Linked DNA regions of Homo sapiens: region 1 is linked to region 2. The links are contacts of gene promoters, found by promoter capture Hi-C in human tissues and cell types (Jung and others, 2019). All regions are on one chromosome and are shown on one strand. The core of a region is centred on a gene start or on the middle of the fragment in contact, and the rest is flanking DNA. Distances in the headings are between cores, read along the strand shown. Region 1 overlaps SVOPL (SVOP like). Region 2 holds the start of SVOPL (SVOP like).

What was found. Contacts are between HindIII fragments. The study calls those that stand out against the background at their distance.
Region 1: a fragment that was not itself captured here is called in contact with the fragment with the promoter of SVOPL in region 2 in 1 of the 25 tissues and cell types used here (spleen).

What each region holds. Positions count from the first base shown.
Region 1 is chr7:138,665,065-138,669,822 of GRCh38, reverse strand. The region is part of intron 4 of SVOPL (SVOP like); the gene reads left to right. Among named protein-coding and RNA genes, the nearest start is that of SVOPL, 34 kb to the left of the region's middle. RefSeq lists an enhancer at 1,243-1,824. The HindIII fragment of the contact is 8,522 bases long and covers 1-4,758 here.
Region 2 is chr7:138,697,936-138,702,662 of GRCh38, reverse strand. It overlaps SVOPL (SVOP like), which reads left to right and starts at 1,301. Exons shown (of 16, transcript NM_001139456.2): 1 at 1,301-1,485. It also overlaps the pseudogene UQCRFS1P2. The HindIII fragment of the contact is 2,573 bases long and covers 1-2,370 here.

The DNA of each region.
Region 1 (4,758 bases), core at 346-2,845, 33 kb after region 2:
ATACAAAATTTTATTTTGATGGGCATAGCAGGAAGGAATCACAAGAGTGATTACCAATAACCCAGCTTGGGACAGAAACGTATATAGCCTTTTACACAGTGGAGGATGCCAGTGGGCAAAGATTCTTTAGATGGGCAATAAGTCATAAGTGAGAATGAATGAACCAGGGAGGAGTGAGGCACGCATTACAGGAAGGTGAGGGGTGGAGTTGCACAGGAACAAAGGTTGTTCTGTTATCCAGGTGATCTCTGGGAGCTGCCCTCAGAGGACTAGGTGAAAAGTCTGGAGCAATGTGATACCCCCAGCCTCTTCTCTTTTCTGGTGGCTGATCTTTGTAATTTGACATGATCCCTAGGGAGCAGGTTTAAGATAATTGCGTTCCCTTTTTTTTTGTTGTCATTGTTGTTGTTTTGTTGAAACAGAGTCTCCCTCTTTTGCCCGGGCTGGAGTGTGGTGGTGCGATCATAGCTCACCGCAGCTTTGAACTCCTGGGCTCAAATAATCCTCTTGCCTTAGCTTCCTGAGTAGCTAGGATGTGGGTCACCACACCTGGCTAATTTGAAGAGGCTAGTCTCTACTCCTGGCCTCAAGCAATCCTCCTGCCTAGGCCTCTCAAAGTGTTGGGATCACAAACTGAGTTACCACACCTGGCCCAGTTGCATTCCTTTTGGAACAAAGCTTTCTTGGTCAGATAAGGAAACTGCAGAGAGCCCTTCCCTGTGCTTGAGGGCGAAGGAGCAAGACAAGGTTAGAGGGACCTTGATTCTGATGCAGCTGCCTCTATCCTCTCCACATGTCAAAAGGCCAGTCTTTGTTGTATCGCTTTCTGGGCCCCAACGACTTAATAGAAGAACTGTGAGCCCAGGTGCTCAAAATCCTCACTAAAGAGAGTGTCTGGGAGGTAGGTAGACTGATGGGTGGAGGATGGCAGTCAGGTGGCAGAGGCCTTGAGGTCAAATTCTGTAAGACAGTGAGAGCTAGTCTGAAACTGGTGGTGGAGAATTCCAGAAGAATTCCTCCTGCTCCCCAGACTGACAAGGCTGTGCTCAAAGGAGTAGCCCCGGAAGGTGGCAGGGGAAGGGGATGTCCCTGTCACTCACTGTGTTAACCAAATCTTACCTGTGAATTTTAATCTTTGGGGGTGGCACCAGGGAAAATTCCCTCACTTGAGGAACTGGTTGGAGTTCTTCTCTCAGATAATGCATGGTATTGCCCAGTTGTGTTTCTTTCTGTGTCTTGGAGGCTGGGAAGTTTGGATTCCAGTTGTATGCCCAATCACAGCAGCACATCTAAAAATCTGCCCTGATTTTTGCTAACCCAAATGAGATATTGAGGCAAAAATCTCAGTCATCTGAGGTTTATTGAGCTAGAGCTTGAGGGTGTGACTGGGAAGAATGTAACAGCCCAGCGGGTTCACCTTGCCCGCTGACTAGACAGAGCTGATTTCTCAAGACAGGGGAATTGCAATAGAGAAGGAGTAATTCCCACAGAGCTGGCTGTGTGGGCAACTGGAGTTTTATTGTTATTCAAATCAGTCTCCCTGAGCATTTGGGGAGCAGAGTTTTTAAGGACAACTTGGTGGGTGGGGGAAGGTCAGTGAGTCGAGAGTGCTGATTAGGTGGGTTAGAGATGAAATAGTAGGGAATTGACGCTTTCCTCTTGCGCTGAGTGAGTTCCTGAGTGGGTGCCACAAGATCAGATGAACCAGTTTATTGGTCTGGGTGGTACCAGCTGATCCATCAAGAGCACCATCTGCAAAATATCTCAAGCACTGATCTCAGGAACAGTTTAGGGAGGGTCAGAATCTTGTAACCTCCAGCTGCGTGACTCCTAAACCACAATTTCTAATCTTGTGGCTAATTTGTTAGTCCTACAAAGGCAGTCTAGTCCTAGCCAAGAAGGAGGTTGGTTTTGGGAAAGGGCGGTTATCATCTTTGTTTTAAACTATAAAGTAAGTTACTCCCAAAGCTAGTTCAGCCTACACCCAGGAATGACCAAGGACAGTTTGGAGGTTAGAAGCAAGATGGAGTTGGTTAGGTCAGATCTCTTTCACTGACTCAGTTACAATTTTGCAGTGTCAGTTTCAAGAACACCAGCTATGGAAACATCTGTGGCTTGAAGCAGAGGTTTCCGGGTGACTCAGGATTTATACTCTCTTTTAAAGGAAAGAAAGCATGTAGGAAGAGGTGGGTAGCCAGCCAATGAGGCAAATGGTTACATGTCTGTGAGATTTTAATTAGTGCCCAGTAAATCTACATTTTATATAAAATGAGGTGAACATTGGAAGAAAAAAGGGAGAGTAAAGGAAGCATCAATTATGCAGATGTCTCAGGGCAGGTGGAAGAATGGTCTCATCTTCTGGGAAGAATGAGTCTCATCACTTGGGAAGATGAGCTTGCAATCAACATTATCAGTGTGAAATCTAACAGATGTTAGTTGTAGAAGCTAGACTTAGATAGAAAACCTAAGTTACAATGGACATGTCCTTGCTTTATAGGAGGATATGCATCTTGAAGGGTTTCAAGACCAGCAAAGAATTTTCCATGGGGGGTCTGGCTGATGGATAATACTTTGACATAAGATTGTAAAGCAACAGCTATTCAAGGATGGCTAGTGTTGCATTAGTCTGTCTTCAGGCTTAACCTCCTCTTTGGTGTAATGAGTTTAGGAGTCCCGAGATGTTTTATTTTTCCATTATATTATCTTAGTTCCATCTCCCTCATTAAAACTCCTCTTATTAACTTTGGAGCCCTGGTTCCTTTTTTGCGTTTTTAAAGCTCTCTAGTACTTGTTGTCCCAAAGACCACCAGGATGGCTAAATAATAGAAAGGACAGTTTTATTGGCAATAGTGATTTGCAAGCCTGAAAGAGACAGTCTCCAGTGTGCATTGAAGTTGCTTTCTCTTGGAAGAGGAGAAGGACAGGTTGGGTTTTATGTTTCACAAGGCTGGCATCATACATATTTGGCAGGTTTGGGGGCAAAGCTATACATGTTTGTGAGGGGATCCTACATGCAGACTAGGTAAGCTCGTTTGTAACATACATCACATGTTCACTTTGGGGCAGGGTTTTAGCATTAAAATGAGGTGGAATTTGGCTCTTTATGTCAAAGGTGAACTACAGAAAACAAACAGTTTGTGCACTCTCTGTATAAGCTGCTGAAACTGACCTGAGGTCTGCAGTAGCTTATCCAAAAAGAATGTCTGTAAGGCTGGTCCTCTGTCCAATCAGCACTGTAGTGGTCTGGGTTGTAAATCAGCTTGATATCTCAGACAGGAATTCAGAAATCTGCCATGTCTGCCAGACCCTGAACCCTTGACCTGGAGATAACGTTTGTTTCTTTAACCTTGGGGCCCGTCTTAGTTGCTAAAGGGGTGTCTATTTTGGTGTCTCAGATCATATGCTTTTAGAAAAACTTTTAGAAATAAAACAAAGTTTTTACTTAGACTTGTAATAAAGTGACTCGATTGCTTTCTATTTTCTTCTACATATAAAATACTTTAGAAAGTGTCAACCTAAAATAACAGAGAAGCTCTCCAGAGAAATGAGTTTATTTGGAAAGGAATGATAGGTGATTGCAATCTGGGAATTCCTGTGCCATGGCGAACCGTGGCCGGGCCATAGGTGTATCCAGGAAGGCAAGGAAAGTCGAGAGTTTTTTAAAGACAAAATGAGGAAGGCTACATAAGTTATTTTGAAATACTTTTCCTTGGCTACAAGGATCAGTAACAACGGTGGCATCAGTCCGAGGTAGAACAGGCTGGGTATTGTTCTTGCAGAAGCAGTTTCTTGTTTTTTGTTTTGTTTGTTTTTGAGACAGTGATGCACTCTGTTGCTCAGGCTGGCCTTGAGCTCCTGGGCTCAAGCGATCAGTGGTCTTTGTGCAAGGCTGTGGTTTTCAGAGTCCTTATTACAGTTTTTGTGTGCCTGAGAGCTCCTCCTCTGTTGCCTACAATCCCATTTTGGTAGGGTGTGGCCTAAGTGACTCCATTTTGGTTCTCATGGCTTTCAGAAAAGCGTTACTTGCCAATCCTTGTATCTTTAGGGTGACCCTATAACTTTATGTTTAATTCTAACTGATCTGTACCCCAGTTGGCTTGTGTATATGCACCTCTTAGATCCTTGAGAATGCTGGAGATCCAGGTGTGGCATTTGCACCTGCACTACAAAATTGTATTACGTGATACCGTTTTTTATAGTACATGACACACATGTAAATGTGATATTTACAGCTCATATTTCATTGGCTGCATTTGTGCTGTTTCCTAAGGTGCCTACAGAGGCTCCTTCCAGCAGGTACACAATCTCCCTCATTAGGCCATCACAGCTCAGAAGACTTCTCTCTAAGCAGCTGAACTCTCCCAAGGTGACTGTTTCCTGCTCTGGGCTCCTCCCATCCTCCTGTCTTGGCTTAGCCCATCTGACTCTGACCCTGTCCCTGAGCTTACTGGGAACAATTGTGCTAAACGGAAGGGCCAGGCTAATGAGCAACATTGTCACTGTCTCCCAGGCCCCCCAACCCTGTTTTCTAAGCGGTTGTTAATTGAGAAAACTAAAGAATTGTGGGGCTATGATGGCCCTTGTGTTTTGTGAGAGTCATGCTGAAGAAACGCTTTGTGTGTTGCTTAAATCAGAAACAGTGGAGTCATGTCATGTATTAAAGACAAGCACCTGCAGAAAAGAGCTGACCCTAGGGAGGTGGCGAGTGGGGGCGGGGGAGGGTCGAGCGTGGGGGTGGGGGTAGGAAGGGTCGAGCAT
Region 2 (4,727 bases), core at 52-2,551:
TAATTTTTGTATTTTTAGTAGAGACGGAGTTTCACCATGTTTGCCAGGCTGGTCTTGAACTCCTGACCTCAAGTGATTCACCCGCCTTGGCCTCCCAAAGTGCTTGGATTACAGGTGTGAGCCACCACTCCCGGCCCATCCTTTACTTCTTCTTCTTCTTCTTTTTTTTTTTTTTTTTTGAGACAGATTCTCACTGTGTTGCCCAGGCTGGAGTGCAATGGTGCAATCTCGGCTCACTGCAACCTCTGCCTCCCAGGTTCAAGTGATTTTCCTGCCTCAGCCTCCCGAGTAGCTGGGATTACAGGCACATGCCACCACGCCTGGCTAATTTTGTATTTTTAGTAGAGATGGGGTTTCGCCATGTTGGCCAGGCTGGTCTTGAGCTCCTGACCTCAAGTGATCTGCCCACCTCGGCCTTCCAAAGTGCTGGAATTACAGGCATGAGCCACTGTGCCTGGCCCTTAAATCATGCTATGGGCCCTCAGCTGGGACTCTTCAACTGCAGGTTCTTGGTCAATTTCCTTCTTGGTTCTGTGGCATACAAACAGGGATTTGCCTCTCCATTTGAAAGCCATGTTCTTGCCTTCTGGAATATCAAATAACTTGATTGCAATTTTCGACACGGCCGACTCATCAGCAGAAGCACTGATGCTGGAAACAAACTGGGAGATGACATTCTTGGCAGCATATGTGACACCCACAGCAGTTGTTGCAGTTACCAAATAGGAGAACCCTTTCCTAGCCTCGCCATCCTCTTTTGAAGACTTTGTCCCATCAAAAATCTCAATGCAACAGTAATCAGGGAAGTCAGGCACATTGATGTCTGTATGGGAATAACGAACAGAAGCAGGGACATTGAGGCCCACAGAGTTGACCCAAGACAGGCTCATGGCCTGGCCACTCAGTGACTCCTGGCATAGCAAAGGCTGCTCTTGTACAGCACAGGCAGCTTCAGGGTGGCAGGCACCATGGCCTATACCAGGGGCTACAGCATGCCTGCCACCCTGCAGGATATGGCTGACAGGATGGGCATGAACCTGCTCCTTAATTCTAAGCAATGGCTGTGAGCAAATGTTTGCAAGGGCAAAGCTTCCCTCTGCCCCTTGCCTAGGTCTTCTCTTTCAGAAATTCTTCCAGCTGTCCTGAGAACAACATAGTAATTTCCTCCAAAGTTCGGCAGCCTCTTTCAGTCTTAACAAGAAATGTAATTTCCCCTTTAAAAGGAGATCAAGTGCAGGCTGCTGAGAAGAGGGTGTGCCCTAGGTGTCATTCACTTGCCCAGAATGCGAAGTTGGCCCTTAAAGAATCCTGATCTGAGACCCGACCTGAAAGGAGAGGATAAGACCAGGGAGCCAGGCGTCTTGGGAACACAAGTCTGGCCACCCCTGAGAAGCCATCTGTGCTCCAATTTCCGTCTAAGACTTGGCCACGGTGAGGGGAGCAAAAGAGCCTGAAATTGGAAGACTGTCCAAGGAATATACAGAGGTGAGAAATTTGTGGGCAACATTGATCTGGACTTATTTTTTCCTGCTGCTGTAGAGGGTGGGGTGGGGCATTGACTGTTAGTTTGTGGCCGAAGGCAAATGGAGCATGAAAATTTCCTTGGATATTGCAAAACAAATTACATCACACATCACACACAAAACTCAGTTTAAAAAAGATCTACTGTGGCCCAATTATTTCTGGTTAAAAAACAATCAGTATAACAAAATACAATAGAATAAAATGTCAATCAGTCCTTTAGAATTTGTTTTAATGAAGCTTGAACTCCATCTGAGTTCAGGGAAAATCCCCAATCTATCAGTTTCTCACCAGGTTTTGTGAAGGTAGGTCATGGATTACTTTCCCATTGTAGCTTTTTAGGAACTTATAGTGAGGGACGCGAAGCATTCTTTTCCATGTTATTCCCTATTTTCCTGAGTTGGTCTAACTGATCATCCATCTGCCATCCATCCATCCATCCATCCATCCATCCATCCATCCTCTTACTGGGTTAGAAAGGATTTAGAATGACACAGGAAACCAGCCGGGTGCGGTGGCTCACGCCTGTAATCCCAGCACTTTGGGAGGCTGAGGTGGGTGGATCACAAGGTCAGGAGTTCAAGACCAGCCTGACCAAGATGGTGAAACCCCGTCTCTACTAAAAATACAAAAAAATTAGCCATGCATGGTGGTGGGTGCCTGTAATCCCAGGTACTCAGGAGGCTGAGGCAGAAGAATCGCTTGAACCCGGGAGGCAGAGGTTGCAGTGAGCCAAGATCACACCACGGCACTCCAGCCTGGGCAACAGAGTAAGACTCTGTCTCAAAAAAAAAAAAAAAAAAAAAGACATACGGAACCAAAGAACAGAGTATGTCAATTCAGCCTTTCCAGCATTCCATTGCTGAGTTAAGATTGCAAGCTCTATCTCTCAATAATGTTCCTCATCTCCATCTCTCAAACATGTTGTTCTCTTCTTTCTTCATGTAGCTTTTGGCTGAAACTCTAGAGACTACCAAGAAAATACATTTCATATATATGCTAACTAACTTTGAGTTTGTGTTTGAGTGTCCTTTTAATGACTTGGAGAGTAAGCCCCTTTCCAAGGTACAGATGTGAACGCTACAATCCTGATAATCTCCTGCCAACAGCCCTGTGCCCTGCAACTTGCTCCACCAAAGGAATCCTGTTGTTGAAAACTCTGTATCCTAATAGGGTGGGAATGAGGACTTTCTCTGTTGCAGGTAAACCTGTACGTTTGTTTCTTCCCCCTCTTGGCAAATTCCCCTGACACCGGGGACCCACCCGGCCCTGATTATCTTCAAGGGCTATGCATTGGGAAGACCAGTGTTACAAGTGACGGGCACTGAACGCTGTTCCGGTGGCGGGGCGAGGGCTGACTTGCTCCTCGGAGCCACACCTCACCACCAGCCCTTTTTTTCCACCCTCACCCCACCCCCTGCACCAACTATGCCTTTGGAAGAACTGAAGTTTGAAAGCTTCTTCTTCCTCTAAAATATATTGATTTTGCAATGTAGAACACAGGAGAATTTTGGTGAAAAGTATCCATTTTGTCGTGCCTCTCATAAGTAAGATGAAGTGACTAGTTTGGAGAGGTTTTGAGGTCTTATTTTCCAGTAGGAAAGTAGCACACTGAGGTCACAATTTCCCAACACCACTCAAGTTTACCCATGAAATAAAATCAACCTAGTTTAGAAAACAAGTGACTTTTTCCTCCCCTCTTTGGGTAATTTTTTATTTGATCCCAGTGTGTTCTAATATTAGCAGAATATTAGCAATAAATGCCTTTTGGAGACATATATGTATTTGGTAACTCTTTAGATACTTTATTTTTGTTTTTATTATTTTTTTATTTTTTGAGATGGAGTTTCGCTGTTGTCGCCCAGGATGGAGTGCAATGGCACAATCTCAGCTCACTGTAACCTCCGCCTCCCAGGTTCAAGAGATTCTCCTGCCTCAGCCTCCCAAGTAGCTGGGACTACACCCGCTACCACACCCAGCTAATTTTTTGGAGACGGAGTTTCACTCTGTCACCTAGGCTGGAGTGCAGTGGCATGATCTCAGCTCACTGCAACCTCCGCCTCCTGGGTTCAAGCAATTCTCCTGCCTCAGCCTCCCGAGTAGTTGGGACTACAGGCATGTGCTACCATATCCAGCTAATTTTTTGTATTTTTAGTAGAGATGAGGTTTCACCGTGTTCCCCAGGCTGGTCCCAAACTCCTGACCTCAGGTGATCCACCCTCCTGGGCCTCCCAAAGTGCTGGGATTACAGGTGTGAGCCACCGCCCCCAGCCTGTACATACGTTAAAACATTTCCTGAGTAAATGCTTTGTGATTATGGTGAATTGTAAAAATTTGTTCGATGGCTTTGCTCAGAGGTGAGAGACAGTACTACCATGAGGACTTTTGATGCAATGGCACATTGACATATTTTATAAACATCATCTAATTTCATTGTCATCACACACTTAAGAGAAAGTTTATCAGTTGAGAATTGCACAAAACTGCAAGTAACAGAGACCAGAAATCACAGTGGCTTGGATCTAAGAGGTGTATTTCTTTCCTTCATACGTGGTGTCTGGAGGTGAGCAGTCCGAGGCTGCGGGAGATCTCTTGGTCCTCGGTTTCCAGGCTGTTCCTGTCTTATGCTGGCCAGATTCGGTCCAAAGTTTCCGTCTTTCAATTTGCATCATGACCTGAGATGCCAGCCAGAGGGCCAGCCACCCTGCCTCTAGTCTAGCGAGGGGGTGTGAGGAAGAGACAAGGGGCAGAAGAAGGTTTTCCCTGAAGCCCCAACAACCTTCACCTGCATCTCAGTGGCCACTGCCACCAGCAAGGTACAAGGGAAACCCTGATGTTGGGTAGGCAATAGCAATTTCTCCCACCGGCAGGTAGAATTATTTTTATTCCCAGATGAGGAAATGCAGGCAGAAGAAATGGAGTAAGTTTAATCTCGATTTCACCATGACTACTGGCTTTCTTCCTTCCCCCTCCTTCTTTCCCTCCATTCTTTCCTTCCTCCTCTTGCTTCATTCCCACCTCTACTCTTCCCTCATCCCTTCCTTTCTTCCCTTCCCTCCTTCCTTTCTTTTTTCCCTCTCTCCATTCCTGCCAACTTCTCCTCTTTTTCATTACTTCTTCCTTCCCTCCTTTCCTCTTTCCTCCCTTCCTCTGTCCTTTCTTCCTTCTTTCTTTTCCATGTTTGTTAATTTAGTTGGCATAAAATT